Linked DNA regions of Homo sapiens: all the other regions are linked to region 1. The links are contacts of gene promoters, found by promoter capture Hi-C in blood cells and fetal thymus (Javierre and others, 2016). All regions are on one chromosome and are shown on one strand. Each heading gives the region's core, a stretch centred on a gene start or on the middle of the fragment in contact. The rest is flanking DNA. Distances are from core to core; before and after follow the strand shown.

The links. Contacts are between HindIII fragments. The CHiCAGO score rates a contact against its expected background, and 5 or more counts as called.
Region 2: a fragment that was not itself captured here is called in contact with the fragment with the promoter of PCDHA2 in region 1 in 1 of 17 cell types (M1 macrophages); the score reaches 6.8 in M1 macrophages.
Region 3: a contact is called between a fragment that was not itself captured here and the fragment with the promoter of PCDHA2 in region 1, in 1 of 17 cell types (erythroblasts). The highest score is 6.5, in erythroblasts.
Region 4: a contact is called between a fragment that was not itself captured here and the fragment with the promoter of PCDHA2 in region 1, in 4 of 17 cell types (erythroblasts, fetal thymus, M1 macrophages and 1 more). The highest score is 8.4, in erythroblasts.
Region 5: a contact is called between a fragment that was not itself captured here and the fragment with the promoter of PCDHA2 in region 1, in 6 of 17 cell types (erythroblasts, M1 macrophages, naive B cells and 3 more). The highest score is 8.5, in erythroblasts.
Region 6: the fragment with the promoter of PCDHGB4 here is called in contact with the fragment with the promoter of PCDHA2 in region 1 in 10 of 17 cell types (M1 macrophages, erythroblasts, M2 macrophages and 7 more); the score reaches 15.8 in M1 macrophages.
Region 7: a contact is called between the fragment with the promoter of PCDHGB2 here and the fragment with the promoter of PCDHA2 in region 1, in 6 of 17 cell types (M0 macrophages, neutrophils, M1 macrophages and 3 more). The highest score is 10.2, in M0 macrophages.

Annotation. Positions count from the first base shown.
Region 1 is chr5:140,793,484-140,796,233 of GRCh38, forward strand. It overlaps PCDHA2 (protocadherin alpha 2), which reads left to right and starts at 1,369. Exons shown (of 4, transcript NM_018905.3): 1 at 1,369-2,750. The coding sequence starts at 1,482. All of the region lies in intron 1 of PCDHA1 (protocadherin alpha 1), which reads left to right. It also overlaps PCDHA@. The HindIII fragment of the contact is 8,329 bases long and covers 1-2,750 here.
Region 2 is chr5:141,552,842-141,555,591 of GRCh38, forward strand. The region is part of intron 18 of DIAPH1 (diaphanous related formin 1); the gene reads right to left. Among named protein-coding and RNA genes, the nearest start is that of DIAPH1-AS1, 4.1 kb to the right of the region's middle. The HindIII fragment of the contact is 4,317 bases long and covers 1-2,750 here.
Region 3 is chr5:141,445,074-141,447,823 of GRCh38, forward strand. The region is part of intron 1 of PCDHGA1 (protocadherin gamma subfamily A, 1); the gene reads left to right. The region is part of intron 1 of PCDHGA2 (protocadherin gamma subfamily A, 2); the gene reads left to right. All of the region lies in intron 1 of PCDHGA3 (protocadherin gamma subfamily A, 3), which reads left to right. The region is part of intron 1 of PCDHGB1 (protocadherin gamma subfamily B, 1); the gene reads left to right. It also overlaps PCDHGA4, PCDHGB2, PCDHGA5, PCDHGB3, PCDHGA6 and PCDHGA7, and 10 more genes. Among named protein-coding and RNA genes, the nearest start is that of PCDHGA12, 16 kb to the left of the region's middle. The HindIII fragment of the contact is 911 bases long and covers 864-1,774 here.
Region 4 is chr5:141,426,539-141,429,288 of GRCh38, forward strand. All of the region lies in intron 1 of PCDHGA1 (protocadherin gamma subfamily A, 1), which reads left to right. The region is part of intron 1 of PCDHGA2 (protocadherin gamma subfamily A, 2); the gene reads left to right. The region is part of intron 1 of PCDHGA3 (protocadherin gamma subfamily A, 3); the gene reads left to right. The region is part of intron 1 of PCDHGB1 (protocadherin gamma subfamily B, 1); the gene reads left to right. It also overlaps PCDHGA4, PCDHGB2, PCDHGA5, PCDHGB3, PCDHGA6 and PCDHGA7, and 10 more genes. Among named protein-coding and RNA genes, the nearest start is that of PCDHGA12, 2.6 kb to the right of the region's middle. The HindIII fragment of the contact is 1,107 bases long and covers 948-2,054 here.
Region 5 is chr5:141,405,244-141,407,993 of GRCh38, forward strand. The region is part of intron 1 of PCDHGA1 (protocadherin gamma subfamily A, 1); the gene reads left to right. The region is part of intron 1 of PCDHGA2 (protocadherin gamma subfamily A, 2); the gene reads left to right. The region is part of intron 1 of PCDHGA3 (protocadherin gamma subfamily A, 3); the gene reads left to right. All of the region lies in intron 1 of PCDHGB1 (protocadherin gamma subfamily B, 1), which reads left to right. It also overlaps PCDHGA4, PCDHGB2, PCDHGA5, PCDHGB3, PCDHGA6 and PCDHGA7, and 5 more genes. Among named protein-coding and RNA genes, the nearest start is that of PCDHGB6, 1.4 kb to the right of the region's middle. The HindIII fragment of the contact is 857 bases long and covers 899-1,755 here.
Region 6 is chr5:141,386,338-141,389,087 of GRCh38, forward strand. PCDHGB4 (protocadherin gamma subfamily B, 4) reads left to right here and starts at 1,361. Exons shown (of 4, transcript NM_003736.4): 1 at 1,361-2,750. The coding sequence starts at 1,548. The region is part of intron 1 of PCDHGA1 (protocadherin gamma subfamily A, 1); the gene reads left to right. The region is part of intron 1 of PCDHGA2 (protocadherin gamma subfamily A, 2); the gene reads left to right. All of the region lies in intron 1 of PCDHGA3 (protocadherin gamma subfamily A, 3), which reads left to right. It also overlaps PCDHGB1, PCDHGA4, PCDHGB2, PCDHGA5, PCDHGB3 and PCDHGA6, and 2 more genes. The HindIII fragment of the contact is 3,088 bases long and covers 1,073-2,750 here.
Region 7 is chr5:141,358,586-141,361,335 of GRCh38, forward strand. PCDHGB2 (protocadherin gamma subfamily B, 2) reads left to right here and starts at 1,409. Exons shown (of 4, transcript NM_018923.3): 1 at 1,409-2,750. The coding sequence starts at 1,551. The region is part of intron 1 of PCDHGA1 (protocadherin gamma subfamily A, 1); the gene reads left to right. The region is part of intron 1 of PCDHGA2 (protocadherin gamma subfamily A, 2); the gene reads left to right. All of the region lies in intron 1 of PCDHGA3 (protocadherin gamma subfamily A, 3), which reads left to right. It also overlaps PCDHGB1, PCDHGA4 and PCDHG@. The HindIII fragment of the contact is 22,324 bases long and covers 1-2,750 here.

The DNA of each region.
Region 1 (2,750 bases), core at 119-2,618:
GGAAAAAAAGCTAGCTTTTCTTAACAAGAGCTTTGCTTTTCTCTTACGGACATTGCAAATTTTGCAATTAATTTTACTTCTCTCTTTGCTCTAGGAAGCTGAAAACAAAATTGGTGACATGGTTAGAGTAACTGAAGGTGACCCTTTATTATGGATTTTGTATGCTATCCCACTCCTTGATTCATTTTATTTCATCCTCATCTTATCTTTATTCTATTTTCATTTTTTTACTGTGAAGGGATCAGCTAAAAATTAACAAAAGAAGATATTCTCAAGTAATTAACACAAAAAAAGAGATCGATTGTATTGTTCTTGCATAAAAGTCTAAATGTAATGGAAAAGGAATATTCTAAAGTAATAGTACATTATCCAAATGAGAAACAAATAAATTATTAATTTCAAAACATTTGCAAACAATTCAAAAATCAAAATTAAATCACAAAACAACAGTATATATACACATATATTTTCAATGGACTAAAATACCTTTGATTACTATGTTCTTCATTTGAAGAAATAGTGAAAAATGCTAATATATCCAAAAGAATTGAAAGCAGGGTCTCAAAGAAATATATGCACACCCATGTTCATGGCAGCACTGTTCACAACAGTCAAGAAATGGAAGCAACTCAAATGTCCACGAATACTTGAATGAATAAACAAAACGTGGTGTATACATATGTTGGACTATTATTCAGCCTTAAAAAGGAAAGAAGTCCTGTCACATGTTACAATATGGATGAACCTTGAGGAACCATCCACGGATGCTTGAATGAATAAACAAAACGTGGTGTATACATACGATGGACTAGTATTCAGCCTTAAAAAGGAAATAAATCTTGTCACATGCTACAACATGGATGAACCTTGAGGACATTGTGCTAAGTGAAATAGGCCAGTCACAAAAAGACAAATACTTTACGAGTCCACTTACACGAAATATCTAAAGTAGTGAAATTCATAGAAATAGAAAATAGGACTGTGGTTACCAGAGACTGGAGTGACGGTGAAAAGCGGAGTTGTTGTCTAATGGGTATAGAGTTTCTGTTTTCCAAGATGAAAAATTTGTAACAATGTGAATATACTTAACATTACTGAAATGTACATTTAATCATAGTTAATATGGTAATTTTAAATATTATGTTGTGTGTTTTTTAACCAGAGTAAAAAAGGGTAAAAAGGTAATATATTTTAGGGCTTAAAATAGTTATTTTTTTCCAAGATGAAAGCTATGAGTAAACTTAAACCAGAAAATCGACTAGTTTTAAATCTACAGAATAAACAGTAGAGCCTTCCTTTTAGCCACATGATGTCGCTGTCCACCATAGAGTGTTCTCTAGGAAGGAAAATACCCAGAGCCCCTTTGTTACTTCAGAGAAGCGGAGGAATAAGAGAAGCAGCAGGACTTTAACAGAGACTAGAATATTTAAATTTTTGCAAAACATGCTCTTCTAATTTGATCAAAACATTGAGGATTGGTAATGGCGTCTTCTATCAGAAGGGGCCGAGGGGCCTGGACACGGCTGCTCTCGCTTCTGCTCCTCGCAGCCTGGGAGGTGGGGAGCGGCCAGCTCCGCTACTCCGTCCCCGAGGAGGCCAAACACGGCACCTTCGTGGGCCGCATCGCGCAGGACCTGGGGCTGGAGCTGGAGGAGCTGGTGCCGCGCCTGTTCCGGGTGGCGTCCAAAAGACACGGGGACCTTCTGGAGGTAAATCTGCAGAATGGCATTTTGTTTGTGAATTCTCGGATCGACCGGGAGGAGCTGTGCGGGCGGAGCGCGGAATGTAGCATCCACGTGGAGGTGATCGTGGACAGGCCGCTGCAGGTTTTCCATGTGGAAGTGGAGGTGAAGGACATTAACGACAACCCGCCAATATTTCCAATGACAGTAAAGACTATCCGGTTTCCCGAATCAAGGCTGCTTGATTCTCGGTTTCCTCTAGAGGGAGCATCTGATGCAGATATAGGAGTAAATGCTCTTCTCTCCTACAAGCTCAGCTCCAGTGAGTTTTTCTTCCTAGATATACAGGCAAATGATGAACTAAGCGAATCTTTGTCTCTCGTGCTGGGGAAATCGCTGGACAGAGAGGAAACTGCTGAGGTTAATTTGTTACTGGTGGCTACTGATGGGGGCAAACCTGAGCTCACGGGCACCGTTCAAATACTTATTAAGGTATTAGATGTAAATGACAATGAACCAACTTTTGCCCAATCAGTTTACAAAGTAAAATTGTTAGAGAATACGGCAAATGGGACCTTAGTGGTTAAGTTAAACGCTTCTGATGCAGATGAAGGACCGAACAGCGAGATTGTGTATTCACTCGGTAGTGATGTGTCCTCCACTATACAGACTAAGTTTACCATAGATCCCATCTCAGGGGAAATCAGAACTAAGGGAAAATTAGATTATGAAGAAGCAAAGTCCTACGAGATTCAGGTCACTGCAACTGACAAAGGAACCCCTTCAATGTCAGGACATTGTAAAATTTCATTAAAACTTGTGGACATCAATGATAACACACCAGAAGTCTCAATAACGTCTCTCTCACTTCCCATCTCAGAGAACGCTTCCCTGGGCACTGTCATTGCTCTCATCACGGTGTCGGATCGCGACTCTGGTACGAATGGACATGTCACCTGCTCCCTGACGCCCCACGTCCCTTTCAAGCTGGTGTCCACCTTCAAGAATTACTACTCGTTGGTGCTGGACAGCGCCCTGGACCGCGAGAGCGTGTCAGCCTATGAGCTG
Region 2 (2,750 bases), core at 147-2,646, 760 kb after region 1:
AGAGGCCTCAGAAGAAATGAAACTTGCTAACACCTTGATCTTGGACTTCAAGCCTCCAGAACTGTGAGAAATAAATTTCTGTTGTTTAAGCTACTCAGTCTGTGGCACTCTCTTACGGCAGCCCTAGCAAACGAATACACTTCCTATCAAGACTTAAGGGATGTGAGCCAGGCATGGTGGCTCACACCTGTAATCCCAGCACTTTGGGAGGCTGACGCGGGCCTATCACTTAAGGTTAGGAGTTCAAGACCAGCCTAGCCAACACGGTGAAAAAACCCTGTCTCTACTAAAGATACAAAAATTAGCTGGGTGTCATGGCACACGCCTGTAACCCCAGCTACCTGGGAAGCTGAGGCAGAAGAATTGCTTGAACCCAGGAGGTGGAGGTTGCAGTGAGCCAAGATCGCACCACTGCACTCCAGCCTGGGTGACAGGCTGTCTTTTTTTTTTGACCCTGTCTCAAAAAAACAACTTAAGAGATGTGTCCCAAACAATAATTTAAACAAAAACAGTCTCGGCCGGGCATGGTGGCTCACGCCTGTAATCCCAGCACTTTGGGAGGTCAAGGCAGGTGGATCACCTGAGGTCAGGAGTTCGAGACCGGCCTGCCCAACATGGCGAAACCCCAACTCTACTAAAAATACAAAAAATTAGCCAGGCGTGGTGGTGGGCGCCTATGTAATTCCAGCTACTCAGGAGGCTGAGGCAGGAGAATCGCTTGTACCCAGGAGGCAGAGGTTGCGGTGAGCCAAGATCACACCACTGCACTCCAGCCTGGGCAACAAGAGCAAAACTCTATCTCAAAAAAACCCCCCAAGAAAACATCGTCTCAAATGCATATATGACAGGGAAAAAAGACTAAAAACTAAAGAGGTAAGTACCTATTTAAAAAAATTAGAATAAGAATAATAAAATAAACCAAAAGAAAAATTTAAAGATAGAGACAAGAACAGAAATTAGTGAAATCTGTAGCAGAGGGGATTCACGAAGCCAACAGTTTTGGCTTAAAACATTTTTTTTAAGACCAGTTAAATTCAGTATTTTAAAACAAGAAAGAAAAACAGAGAAATCAGGCATAAGTAACTAACATCAGGAACAAAATACAGGACTGAACTAAATATGGCTCAGGCTCAAGCATTAAGAGGAATAATATCAGGCAGGGCGCGGTGGCTCATGCCTGTAATCCCAGTACTTTGGGAGGCTGAGGCGGGCAGATCACCTGAAGCCAAGAGTTTGAGATCAGCCTCACCAACATGGTGAAACCCCATCTCTACCAAAATACAAAATTAGCCAGGCATGGTAGTGCATGCTTGTAATCCCAGCTACTCGGGAGGCTGAGGCAGGAGAATCGCTTGAACCTGAGAGGCAGAGGTTGCAGTGAGCCGAGATTGTGCCACCGCACTCCAGCCTGGGCAACAAGAGCAAAACTCCATCCCCACCCGCTCCCCCCAAAAAAAGGAATAATATCATACAAAATATGTCTGCAAATTTAGATAAAATTGATAAATTTCTAGAAAAACATAACACATCAAAACTTATCCAATAAGAAAAAACCAGTCCTATAACCATAAAAGAACTAAATCGGTGATCAAAAATTTCTTCAGAGACCCAGATGACTTTACCAGCTATTATTTCAAACACTCAAGGAATAAATAATTCCACCAATTTTACGCAAAAAATTTTTCCACAGAATAGAAGTATATTTTCTCAACTCATGTTGTGAGGCTAGCATAACTTCACTATCAAAATGTGAAAGAACAGTATCAAAAAAATCATAGGTACTTTCACTCATAAACACAGGCACAAAATTCCTAATAGCAAAGTGAATTAAGGGGTATAAAATAAAAATAATAACAGATCACATTCAAGTTAGATTTGTTTTAGGAATGCAAAATCGGTGTAACAGAAATCAGTTAATATGCTTCCCACAATTACAGATTAAAGTAGAAAATTATATGATCATCTCAACAATACAAAAAAAAACCTGACCAAATTTAATATCCATTCAGAATAAATAGTCTTAGCATATTAGAAATCGAAGAAACTTCTTTGACAATGTGTATATATACCAAAAGCTACAGGCAAAACCCTTCAGGATGGTGGGTACTCTGAGTTGGGGGTGGAGGTTCAGTTGTAACTGGAAGGGGGGTACATAACAAAGGGCATCTTGGTCTCAGACCCTGATTACATGAATGTAAATTTCCTTTTAAATTTTTTGAAATTTAATGCTGCATAATGAGTTGTACACTTCGACCTGAAATAAAGAAGAACTAAGATACACACACACGTCCCCCTCTGATTACAACCATGTAAATGCTATATATACAGCACAGGCAAAGACTACAAGTGAATATGAACAAATTAAAACAGTTTGATTTGTTAACATAGTGTGATAATGTAACTATGTGTAAATTTTAAAAACTGTCACCAAACAGGAAACTGTGAGAAAGGTAAGACAGATATGGCTCTGGGCACCACCTATTTTATTTTCATATCCTTAGACAGGTAGGCCTGGTTCAACTTTGACGGTGGGTTAGGAAGAACTCCCACTGACAACCAGCAGTAAAGACAGGCAGTCAAATGTAGAACCCATAGAATGCTCCCATTTGCTGCCTTCCCAGCCTTCTTACAGGAATGGTGCACTAATTAATCATCCAGATACTAAAGCACCTAATATACAACCTTATCAATGCTTGGGTTCCAGCCCCCATTTTCATAAGAGCAAAGATGAGAAGTCCAGAACAAAGGCC
Region 3 (2,750 bases), core at 69-2,568, 650 kb after region 1:
AATTGTCCCTACATATTTGATGTTTTCTAATGTTATTGTAAATAGTATTTTTAAAATTGTATCTTCTAATTGTTCATTTCTAGTTTACAGAAAAATGAAAAACTATGTTTTTATGTATTCTATATGCTTTTGAAAAGTAAGAGGTGCAAAGTGCTCTATTCTTACACTATATTGTGTGAGAATATAAGTCGAAACCACTCTGCATAAGTTCAGGCTTCCATTCTCTTCAGTTTGTAGGTTGAGAGAACCCATCCAGAAACAGTAAACATTGGTGTCTGCCCAAGTCTGGTCCTGGGTGGTTCATTCATTCATTTACATAACAAATATTTATTAACTGTCTGCTATATGCAAGGCACTGACCTATGGACTAAGGATGCAGCAATGAACAAGGCATATATGATTCCTGAGTTAATGGGCCCTATTCTAATACATGATATTTTACAGGTCTGATAAAAGCCAACAAGGAGAAATACAAAAGCACTAAGAGAAAGCTTATAGTAGGGAAGCTTCGCCTAATCTGAAGGTCAAGGAAGGCTTTCTTTTTTTCGGAAAGTGATATTTAGAGAGATGAATAGATTAATAGGATGAGTAGAAGTTATCTAGGTAACAAGGAAAGTAAAAAAGAAATTGTCAGGCAGAGGAAATAGCATGTGTAAAGATCTTTTTAAAAAATAAAAGGTGTGACTCAAGCAATTTAAAAGGGCTAGGGAGGCTAGAAACAGAAAATAAATAGATGAAACTAATAAGGCAGGGAGAGCCTTGTAAATCACACTTAAAATTCTGGATTTTGTTCTAAATACCCTTGTACTTAGGAGCTATTAAAATATTTTAAACAAGGCAGTGACAAGATATTTGAATTATTAAGCTTACTCTGGCTGCTATATGGAGAATTGATTTATGAGGGTTATAAATAGAAATAGGAAGATAAGATAGGAGACTATGGCAATATTCCTGGTAAGAAATGGAAGAAGAGCTGGCTTGGATTAAAGGGGAGGCAGTGGATGTAGAAATAAATGGATGAATTATAGATATATTTAGGAAATGGGTTCAATAAGACTTAATAATGGAATAGGTGGAATATAAATTTCATGAGGGCAGGGGGTGTTTTGTTTATTATTATATTCCTAGGTGTCTGAAAATATTGTTGTGTTGCCTGGCAAGTGGTAGATCTTCAGTGAAATATTATTAACTGAATAAATACAATGGATAAATGGGGAGCAGGGATTAAGAGTGATTCCTGGGTTTCCACATTAAGGAACTGGATGGACAAAGCTACCATTTGATGAGAATGGAAGACTAAAGAATGATAGATTTAAGAGAAATCGAGTTGAGTTCCAGCCATGTTCATTTGAAGGATCTGAGAAACAGTGCAGATATTCAGTGTGTGATTAGACATATGGTCATCATTCTTTTTTTTTTTTGAGATGGAGTCTCGCTCTGTCACCCAGGCTGGAGTGCAGTGGCCCTATCTCTGCTCACTGCAATCTCTGCCTCCCAGGTTCAAGTGATTCTTCTGCCTCAGCCTCCTGAGTAGCTGGGACTACAGGCGTGCACCACCACGCCTGGCTAATTTTTGTATTTTTAGTACAAGACAGCATTTCACCATATTGGCCAGGCTGGTCTCGAACTCTGATCTGCCCGCCTCGGCCTCCCAAAGTGTGGGGATTACAGGCGTGAGCCACCGCGCCCAGCCGGTTACCATTCTTTTACTCTGAGTTCTTCCATTGTGATCATCTAGTCAGATGGGTAGATCCTTATAAGGCTGAGCATAATAAGCTTCCTGATAGCTCTACACTGGTATGTTTTGGGGTTCATGGCTGAGCTACTTTTGTGTTTTATTTATCTTCCTGATCTCTTTTTCACTGTAAGAAACATCCAGCACCCAGGGAAATTTGCTGTCTAATTCATACTCCACTCTTCAGACTAGTCCTAGTGTTCAGTTTTGTTTTGTTTTTTTTCTGTGTCTGGAATTCTATTAAAATGTGTCAGGCTGTTTTAATTTTTGTTGTTTAATTTTCTTTCACATGATTATATGTGCTCCATGGATTTTTTTGTTTGTTTGTTTTTTGTTTTTGTTTTTGTTTAAGCGGGGTCTTGCTCTTGTCGCGCAGGCTGGAGTGCAATGGCTTGATCTCGGCTCACTGCAACCTCCGCCTCCCGGGTTCAAGTGATTCTTCTGTCTCAGCCTCCCAAGTAGCTGGGACTACAGGCACATGCCACCACACCCGGCTAATTTTTGTATTTTTAGTAGAGACGGGTTTCATCATATTGGTCAGGCTGGTCTCAAACTCCTGACCCTGGTGATCTGCCCACCTCGGCCTCCCAAAGTGCTGGGATTACAGGCGTGAGCCACCGCACCCGGAGGAAATTTTTAACCTCAGTTTTTCTTCACCATCTGTAAAACTGCATAGAAGGAATGTTTAGGATAAAAGATGCATAACAATCATAACAAAATTGTTGGGTTTTAATGTTATGAGTACACTTGGAGGATTCTATGTCCACACATACCTTAAACATCCTATAGAGTCCTTAGCATTTTAAAGTTGAAACCAACAGTATGAATGATGGTAGAATTTTCCCCCCCAGGAAGTTAGAACTGTTCCATATCTTGATAGAGGGATGGGTTATAAGGATGTACACATTTTCCAAAACTCATTGAACTTAAGAGTCTTGCATGTGACTGTATATAAATTATACTTTAATTGAAAATAAATTTAAGAAAATAAAATTGGCTGGGCGTGGTGGCTCAC
Region 4 (2,750 bases), core at 251-2,750, 630 kb after region 1:
TTGTGAGTGACAGAATAGATCGAGAGTCACTGTCTTCAAAATCCTCTGTGTCATACCCTTAGAGATTGTAGCAGAGAATCCTCTAAATGTTTTTCACATAAATGTGATGATAGAAGATATAAATGATAACCCACCTCATTTTCCCCAAAATAGCATTGTTTTACAAATCAATGAACTAGCAATTCCAGGCATTCGGTTTGGCCTGGAATCTGCTATAGATGCAGATGTAGGGCCTCACTCTCTCCAGAGTTACCAGCTCAGTTCTAATGAACATTTCTCTCTGATGATGGACAAGACTAAAGGCAAGAACGCTCCAGAATTAGTGCTGGAGAAGCCCCTGGGCCAGGAGCAACAGAGCTCTCATCTCCTGGTCCTGGAAGCAATGGACATGGGTGACCCAGTCCCAACTGGCACTGCTGCAATTCAAATTGAGGTCACTGATGCCAACGATAATGCCCCAGTTTTTAGCCAGGATGTATACAAAGTCAGCCTTAGAGAGAATGTGCCCCCAGGCACCTCTGTACTAAAGGTGACAGCCACTGACCAGGATGAGGGTGTCAATGCGGAGATCACCTACTCTTTCAAATCCCTACGAGATGATATTGGAAATATGTTTGTGCTAGACCATCAAAATGGGGAAATTAAATCCAAAGACTTAATAGACTTCGAATTTCGTAGCAGTTATACCATGAGAGTAGAAGCTAAGGATGGTGGAGGCATGACCAGCGAATGTAAAATTATACTAGAAATCCTAGATGAGAATGACAATGCCCCAGACGTGGTTTTTACTTCAGTGTCCAGTTCTGTAACTGAGGACGCAGAACCCTGGACGGTGATCACTCTGTTCAAAACACATGATAAAGATTCGAGAGAAAATGGGGAGGTTACATGCCTCATAAACGAAAGAGTTCCTTTTAGAATCGAATCTTCCGCCAATAATGACTATAAGCTTGTAACAGATGGGACCCTGGATTGGGAGCGGATCCCGGAGTACAACGTCACCATCACTGCCACTGACAAGGGCAAGCCTCCGCTCTCATCCAGCACAAGCCTCACCCTACGCATTGGTGAAGTCAACGACAATGCTCCGGTTTTCCACCAAGTCTCCTACGTGGTCCACGTGGCCGAAAACAACCTTCCCGGAGCCTCCATCCCACAAGTCAGCGCCTCTGACCTGGACCTAGGGCTGAATGGCCAAGTCTCCTACTCCATCGTTACCACTGACTTGGAGCTGCGGGCACTGTCGTCCTACGTGTCCGTGAGCGCACAGAGCGGGGTGGTGGTCGCGCAGCGTGCCTTCGACCACGAGCAGCTGTGCGCCTTCGAGCTCACGATGCAGGCCCACGACCAGGGCTCGCCCGCGCTCAGCGCCAACATGAGCCGGCGCATGTTGGTGGGCGACCTCAATGACAATGTGCCGCGGGTGCTGTACCCCGCGCTGGGGCCCGATGGCTCCGCACTCTTCGATATAGTGCCACGCGCCGCAGAGTCCGGCTACCTGGTGACCAAGGTGGTGGCGGTGGACGCAGATTCGGGACACAACGCTTGGCTGTCCTACCACGTGCTGCAGGCCATCGAGCCCGGGCTTTTCAGCCTGGGGCTGCACACGGGAACCTGCTGGTTGCTGTGCGTGACGGAGGACAGCCGCCGCTCTCTGCGCCGCTACGCTTCACCTAGTCTTCGCAGACAGCCTGCAGGAGGCACTGCCAGACTTCAGTGACAGTCCTGTGCCCTCTGATTCCCAAGCAAAGCTGCAGATTTACCTGGTCGTGGCCTTGGCCTTGATTTCTATGCTCTTCTTCCTCGCAGTGATTTTGGCGGTCGCCTTGCACCTGCGATGCTCTTCCAGCCCCTCTGCCTGGGGTTGCTTTCACCCTGGTCTCTGTTCTAAGACTAGACCAGGGGTTTTTCCCAACTACAATGAGGGAACTTTGCTTTATTCCTGCAATCTGTATGTTCCCTCGGATTCTAGAAAAAGAAGATTTAATTTTCTCACCATGACACCAGAAACAGTCCCCCCACAAGATCTTTCTAATGAAGTTTCTCTGGTAGCAAGCTTCACTGAAGAGAATAACAAGATAAGCTCTAACTCTGTTGCTCCTACTCACGTGAGTTCCAATGAATGTCTTTCATTTACAAATGGATGAGGTTTAATTTTCAAACCAATATTTTGGCAAGAAAATCTTAAACATATTATATCTACTATTGCTTCAGGTTTGTTTGCCCACTCTTAATATTTCCTGTTCCTTTCTGTGTGGGCCAGTAACTTCATTATTAGCTTTCATGTATTTTTGAAACATTTTCACCATTTTTACGGGAGACTTTTTTTTTTTTTGGACGGAGTCTCGCTCTGTGGTCCAGGCTGGAGTGCAGTGGCATGATCTCGGCTCACTGCAAGCTCTGCCTTCCGGGTTCTGGCCATTCTCCCGCCTCAGCCTCCCGGGTAGCTGGGACTACAGGCGCCCGCCACCACGCCCGGCTAATTTTTTGCATTTTTAGTACAGACGGGGTTTCACCGTGTTAGCCAGGATGGTCTCGATTTCCTGACCTCGTGATCTGCCCGCCTCGGCCTCCCAAAGTGCTGGGATTATAGGCGTGAGCCACTGCACCCGGCCCGGAGACATTGTTTATACACACACACACACACACACACACACACACACACACGTGTGAAAAGTGGGTATTATGATACTGCTGTCATTGAGATATTTTAATTGAGGAATAAATTTTTTTCCTGTGATGTTTCTTGG
Region 5 (2,750 bases), core at 77-2,576, 610 kb after region 1:
GAAGAGTCACCTGATCTTCCCCCAGCCCAACTATGCAGACACACTCATCAGCCAGCAGAGCTGTGAGAAAAATGAGCCTTTGTGCGTCTCTGTTGATTCCAAGTTTCCTATAGAAGACACCCCTTTGGTTCCGGTGAGTTCATTTTTTTTCTTTCTTTCTTTTCTTTTTTTGTTTTTTGTTTTGTTTTGTTTTTGAGACAGAGTCTTACTCTGTTACCCAGGCTGGAATGCAGTGGTGTGATCTCGGCTCATTGCAACCTCCGCCTCCCAAATTCAAGCGATTCTCCTGCCTCAGCCTCCCAAGTAGAGTAGCTGGGACTAGAGTAGAGTAGCTGGGACTACAGGCCTCCCAAGTAGAATAACTGGGACTACAGGCACGTGCCACCACGCCCGGCTAATTTTTTGTGTGTTTTTAGTAGAGACGGGGTGTCACCATGTTGGCCAGGCTGGTCTTGAATTCCTAACCTCAAGTGATCCACCCACCTCAGCCTCCCAAAGCACTGGGATTACAGGCGTGAGCCACTGCGCCTGGCCCTTAACTTTCTATTATAGTTAGCTTTCTCTTTAACTGTCTGTACTTAAGGTAGTATAAGTTGATATCAGTGTGTTTCTCATCACTTTTCACTGGGCCTAATTGTTGCTCCAACACTGAAAGGAGGCATTTATTAGTTATATTTGCTGATATAACTTTCATGTTCTCATAATAATTAACCTGCTGTCAACGTAAACCATACTTCATGGGGTAGCTCTCAGCCTGCATTGATGTGGGCTTTTTGGGTAGGGTTGCTTCATTGGTTGCAGTGGACTCATATCATAAAATTCTTACTCCTTTTTTTTTTTTTTTAAGAGATGGGGGTGTCATTCTGTTGTCCAGGGTGGAATGCAGTGGTGTGGGTAAAGCTTACTGCAGTCTCAATCTCCTGGGCTTATGCAATCCTCCCACCTCAGCCTTCACAGTAGCTAGGACTGAGGTGGGAGGGCTAGCAAGCTATGTTGCCCAGACTGGTCTCAAACGATCTTCCTGCTTCAGTTTCCCAAAGCACTGGGTGAGGTGTGAACCACCTCACCCAGCAAATTCTTACTCCTACGATCATTTATTCAGGTCATACTATGTTTGTAAGGGTAAACTGATAAAAAGGTAAATGTATTCTTCTTAGAGAAACAGCTGAAAGCCCAGATTTATTGCTTCTATTCTTCCATTTCTATGACAGGAAAACACCTCTTTGAGGTTATATTTTTCAGATCACAAGTGTGTAAAGTCTGTTTGTGTTTACAGATATTTTCTGACGAAGATTCAAACTTCAGTTATCCACTTCCAAACCCTAGTAAACCAATTTTTTCCCTTTAATGGTGAAAGTTGTCACATCTTTTATTCTCATATCTTCAAAGGTCTTAATTTCCTAATGCTTTAATGTTAAATTATGGAGAATAGTAGGACATTCTTCTTTTCTATAGTATATGCTTGCTCAAGAGAAGTTTCTAAGACTGGACACTGTGAAATGACAAAACAAGGAATTAAAAATATTTCTCTCACTTATATATTATTTCTGGCTCAATTCTCCAACTTTTGAGTCTAGAAATGAACTTGCATATCAGATATAATTTAAGAAAATATTCTCAGGAACTGCTGGGAAGATTCTAAAACTATTTTACTGTTTTTAGCTATAAGGAAGAGAATAATGTATTATTTAATGTTATTTTAAACATAGTGTTGTTTCAAATAGTAAATAACATTTCACAAGACATTTGAAAATAAGCTTTGAAGTTGACTCAAAATTCTATGCTAAACATGTGATCCATAGATACACTGATGACTGCTGGCATTTCTGTGGAAATGAAGAATTGTTTTATTTGTTTGTAATTATTTGGGTTTCAGTTGCTTTATTTTTAAGAAAAAAAAGCTGAAGTGTCTGGGAATCCTTTATGACATACAGACATTTTAATTATTTCAAACACGTTTTCCCCCTTAAGTGGGTAGCAAAAAAAATAAAGCATACTTCAGGCTCATATTTTTAACCATGCAACAAGAAAATTGTTACAATTTCTGTTCTGAGGAGTAGCCTTCATACTTAGTATTTATAAATATTGAAATGTATGTTAATTTGGGGAAAACATAACAGATATCCATGAAGGCTTGTATGTCATGGTAGGTAGTTACTATTCGATACCACAAAAATGTCTCTTGCCCTTAAAACCAGAACACGAGGCTCACCAGACAGATGACTGAATGGAGTATGGAAAATCTTTATTTCTGTTTTTCTTAGGCTATGTAGGACTTAACTTATTGTGCATTGGTAACAGATTGTAGAACATAAGCTGAAAGATAAAATTCTTGACCTTAATGTCTCATCTTAAAAAGAAGCATTGGTTGACATTCTATATCTCGTATTACTTAAAAATAATGGGGGAGCGCAGTATATATTAAACAAAGATTGGCTTTGTGGTGATCATTGTTGAAGGTGGGGTGATGGCTATGTGAAGGTTCACTATATATACTCCCTACTGTTGTATAAGTTTGAAATTGTGCATAATAGATTTATTTAAAACACAAAGCATAGAAATATCTACTATAATATTATGGTGAGAGCAAAATTTGAGGGGGATGTACACCTGCATTTTCGAAGAATATATACATTTCGGAGACCGAATTCAAAATGAAAAACCGGGCTGCTGTCCCGCACGGAGCCTCTGGGCGCCGCTGTCGGCCAGTGCAGAGCAAGCGCTGACGCCGGGGATCCGTCAGCCTCTGG
Region 6 (2,750 bases), core at 111-2,610, 590 kb after region 1:
GATGACAAGGTAATCTTGATTCCAGAGACCTTTGAGTATTAATTAAAAACACACTTTTAGCCAGGTATGGTGTTGCAAGCTGTAGCCCACCTGCATGGGAGGCTGAGGCAAGAGGACAGCTTGAACCCAAGAATTGGAGGCCCACCTAGATAATATAACAAGACTCTGTCTCTTCAAAAAAAGACTCTTTTTAGACTAGTGTTGTATTTGGTAGTATTTTGCACATGATAGACTCTGTACAATAGTGTGGGGGATACATTTTTTTTTTTTGACATGGAGTCTCGCTCTGTCACCCAGGCTGGATACATTTTACAAGTTCTGCAGTGTTCACATTTCAGATGTACAATCACTTGGGGTAGAAGACAATGTTGCTGACACCAACAATGTTACTGAGGGAAGATCCTATGGCAGAACTACGGTTATAAGGTATTTTGTAAAAGAAAATCTCCTGACCAAAATTTATTAGATGCATAAAATTGTTTTTAAGCAATGGAGAGACATAATCACTAAACTCAGTGAGCTATTGCAATCAAACTTTCCAGGGATTGTTTCCTTCAATTCAGAGGTCACCAAGGAATGTAAAATAAGTGCAGAGGTAGGAAGCAGTGCTTCAGTGCAGCAGATCTCAGTGACTTTGTGTTTTGAGGCTATGTATTATCCCCCTGATAACTTTGAAGATGAATGTTGTATTTCATAACCAGTAAAATAATTGTGTAATGAGGAGAGGAGTAGGCTACTGCCTGTGATCATCGAAATGAGAATCACATAATATTCCTGTAATGAAATCACTGAAACTATTGGGAAGGGGGTGTATTTGAAGATAAGTATAAATTGCACCTTCTAAAAGGCAATTTTGGTATTACTGATACTCTCCGGAAAAAGTTGAAATAAATCAACTTGGAGGTACTTAGAAAAGTGGAGAAAATGTTAGGAACAATGAAAGAAAGATAAAATGTATCCAGTATATTTCTAATGAGTAAGTATGGAAAATTACTGTACTCTGAGACGGTTTAGGCCAAGTCTGTGTTATGGCTATCTTTATATAGATAGTGCATGTTTGAAGATTGGGGAAAGCTTATGTCAATAAATGTTTATGTACTTAATCTACATGATTTGCCTAAAAATCCTCAAAGTTGGGATGAAGGCATTCCTAAGAGTACATTTTTAGACGTCATTAAATATACAGACGTATCCACGTAGTTTTTGTTCTTTCAGTTAGGCACACAATTATAATTATTGCACTGGTTAACTTGAAGCAGCAGAGGCTGTAGTTTCCTAGTGCTGACTCTGGGCGCCGCTGTTGGCCAAAGTGGAGAGCTTGGCGCTCCAGATCTCCTCGCGCAGCCGCAGCGCGCTTTCCAGGGCAGCCCCAGCTCAGACTCCCCAGCGCCAGCCTTTACACCGCTTCCTCCTCGGAAAAAGAAGAATTTTTTCTTGAACTGGAACTGCAACTAAAGTCCGTTCGGAGATCCAAAAATCTGCAATACAGAGGTTATTTGTAACCCGGCGTCTCCAGGCTGGTGAGCAAGCTGAGGAGAGCAAGAGGGATGGGGAGCGGCGCCGGGGAGCTGGGCCGGGCTGAGAGGCTGCCAGTGCTCTTTCTCTTCCTGCTGTCTTTGTTCTGCCCGGCGCTCTGTGAGCAGATCCGCTACAGGATTCCCGAGGAAATGCCCAAGGGCTCCGTAGTGGGGAACCTCGCCACGGACCTGGGGTTCAGCGTCCAGGAGTTACCGACTCGAAAACTGCGCGTCAGTTCGGAGAAGCCTTACTTCACCGTGAGCGCAGAGAGCGGGGAGTTGCTTGTGAGCAGCAGGCTAGACAGGGAGGAGATATGCGGGAAGAAGCCAGCTTGTGCTCTGGAATTTGAGGCTGTTGCTGAAAATCCACTGAACTTTTATCACGTGAATGTGGAGATCGAGGACATTAATGACCACACGCCAAAATTCACGCAAAATTCCTTTGAGCTGCAAATAAGTGAGTCTGCACAGCCTGGCACACGATTTATATTAGGATCTGCCCATGATGCGGATATTGGTAGCAACACACTGCAGAATTACCAACTCAGTCCCAGTGATCATTTCTCACTGATAAATAAAGAGAAATCAGATGGCAGTAAATACCCTGAGATGGTATTGAAGACACCTTTGGACAGAGAAAAGCAGAAATCCTACCACTTGACTTTGACTGCCTTGGACTTTGGAGCTCCACCCCTAAGCAGCACTGCACAGATACACGTTCTAGTGACTGATGCCAATGATAATGCTCCAGTGTTCAGTCAAGACGTATACAGGGTGAGCCTTTCAGAAAACGTGTACCCGGGGACCACGGTGCTACAGGTGACTGCCACGGACCAGGATGAGGGTGTCAATGCCGAGATTACTTTCTCTTTCAGTGAAGCTAGCCAGATCACCCAATTTGACCTGAACTCTAACACCGGGGAAATTACTGTTTTAAATACATTAGATTTTGAAGAAGTCAAAGAATATTCCATAGTTTTGGAAGCAAGGGACGGTGGAGGAATGATTGCGCAATGCACAGTGGAGGTAGAAGTCATAGATGAAAATGACAACGCCCCAGAAGTGATATTCCAGTCTCTACCCAACCTAATTATGGAGGACGCCGAGCTGGGAACACATATTGCTTTGCTCAAAGTCCGTGACAAGGATTCCAGACACAATGGAGAAGTGACTTGTAAATTGGAAGGTGATGTTCCATTTAAAATATTAACTTCTTCAAGAAACACGTATAAA
Region 7 (2,750 bases), core at 159-2,658, 570 kb after region 1:
GGTGCACTCCTGTGATTATGAGAAATATTTCCAAGCTAATTTCAGTCATATATAAGTAGATTCTAGGAGTAACTTTAATAATTTTTAAATTGCTTATCATGACATCACTATTGAGACTTTCTTGATTTCCAAGGAAAATATAAGTTTTTGGAGTCTTTTCTCTTGTCATCATGTGAGCCTCTTTCAAAGGTTGAGTTACTTGGGTTCTGGACTGATATGATTTACGCTGCTTAGTAAGGTGGCCTCATCCCTATTGCTACAAATTGCTTTCAGATATTTCTGTCATCATGTGGCTCTGGGATTATTTTATATGAGGGAAAATATTTTGTGTGTAGGGGATATACAACACTTTTGTTCTTTGTGCTTTCATTTAGGTTCTGTGAGAATTCAAAATTCATGAATGCATATGCTTACACAAATTAGTGTAATTTGATAACTGGAAGTTGTAGTGATAGACTGTGGAATATGCCTCAATTTGACTTACAAAGGAGAGTTTTAGTTTCTACATGGTTTTGTATTCATAGAAAGTTGTGGTGCAATACATAGAGTAAGCTGGAATATGATATGATGCAGTTACCTGGCTTGGGGAGCAGAAAGCAGAAATAACAAGTGAATGTTGAGAGACAACTTACATCTGAGGAGAGATTGTTTAAAGTAATTAAGCCATAAAATATAATTTGGAAATGCTCAATTGGTCTGAAACTGTGTCAAGCATATTCAGGTGTTGGCATTAGGAATATATTCCAGAATGAGAGTGCCACATGTTTTAAAGGCCTAGGAAAGCAGTAGATAATTTATAACCTAAAATCAAATTTTTTAAAAAATGTGTTTTTGTTAGAATGGGCAGTGGGTTTCTTTTAGCAAATAACAATTTTGATTAAACAAATTGTTGTATATTCATATTACGGACTACTAGATAACTATATTATGGGCCACTAGATAACTATAAGAAATAAATAGGAAAGCTCTCTATGTACTGATATGATCTTTAAGATATAACAACTAAAAAAGCAATGTGCAGAATATGGTATGTTGTATGCTTACATTTGTGTAAAGAAGGAGACAGAATATTTATAAAAATCCGTTGCCCTATACAAGACATATCTCCGGAAGGATACCTAAGAAACTTTAACACTCATTTCCCCTGTGAAAGCATTTCTCCTCATCTAAAGCAGAGATGAAAGGAAGAACCTATGCTGAATGCATCTTTTGAATTTGGAACTATATGAATATTTCACATATTTTAAAACAAATGAAGACTTTATAAATTAAAAAAGAAAAGAAAAGAAAAAAGTTCTTAGCAAATATTGACAAGCCATTAGTGCAGTTTCCTGAGAAAACCTCTGAGCGTCGCTGTTGGTCAAAAGAACGAAGAGAAGCGTTTGGGAGCCTCTTAGAGGGGAACTTCCTGCACAAACCAACCACACAGAGAAGGCCAGTATAGATTCGGAAACAGAAAACAAAAGCAGGAAAAGTGACCTTAGCCCGGATTCTGCCATCCCCGGAAGGCTTATTCCTCCTATGGGCAAAGGAGCAAAGGGAGCCAGAAGATGAAAGCGAGCTCAGGGAGGTGCGGGCTGGTGCGGTGGCTGCAGGTACTGTTGCCCTTCCTGTTGTCTTTGTTCCCCGGGGCTCTCCCAGTCCAGATCCGCTATTCAATTCCAGAGGAGCTGGCCAAAAACTCGGTCGTAGGAAACCTCGCCAAGGATCTGGGGCTCAGCGTCCGGGACTTGCCAGCCCGGAAGCTGCGGGTTAGCGCGGAGAAGGAATATTTCACAGTAAACCCAGAAAGCGGAGACTTACTTGTGAGTGACAGAATAGACCGAGAACAGATATGCGGGAAGCAGCCTCTGTGTGTTCTGGATTTCGATACTGTCGCTGAAAATCCACTAAATATTTTCTACATAGCAGTAATTGTGCAGGATATAAATGATAATACCCCGCTATTCAAACAGACTAAGATTAATTTAAAAATTGGCGAATCCACTAAGCCAGGTACAACATTTCCACTTGACCCAGCCCTGGATTCAGATGTTGGTCCTAACTCACTACAAAGATACCACCTTAATGACAACGAGTACTTTGATCTCGCTGAGAAACAGACTCCAGATGGTCGTAAATATCCTGAGTTGATTCTAAAACACTCTCTGGACAGAGAAGAGCACAGTTTACATCAATTGGTCCTCACAGCTGTGGATGGCGGAGACCCACCTCAAAGTGGCACGACCCAAATCCGAATCAAAGTCACGGATGCCAACGATAACCCTCCAGTGTTCAGCCAGGACGTGTACAGGGTCACCCTGAGGGAGGACGTGCCGCCGGGCTTCTTTGTGCTTCAAGTGACAGCCACCGACCGGGATGAAGGCATAAACGCAGAGATCACCTACTCCTTTCATAATGTGGACGAACAAGTGAAACACTTTTTCAACTTAAATGAAAAAACAGGAGAAATCACGACAAAGGATGATTTGGATTTTGAGATTGCAAGTAGTTACACTCTGAGTATCGAAGCAAAAGATCCTGGAGATCTAGCAGCCCACTGCAGTATCCAAGTTGAAATTCTTGATGACAACGATTGTGCACCTGAAGTTATTGTGACTTCAGTATCTACTCCCCTACCGGAGGATTCGCCACCAGGAACAGTGATCGCCTTGATAAAAACGAGAGACAGAGACTCTGGAGAAAATGGAGAAGTTTACTGCCAAGTGTTGGGAAATGCCAAGTTTATTTTGAAATCTTCCTCAAAGAAC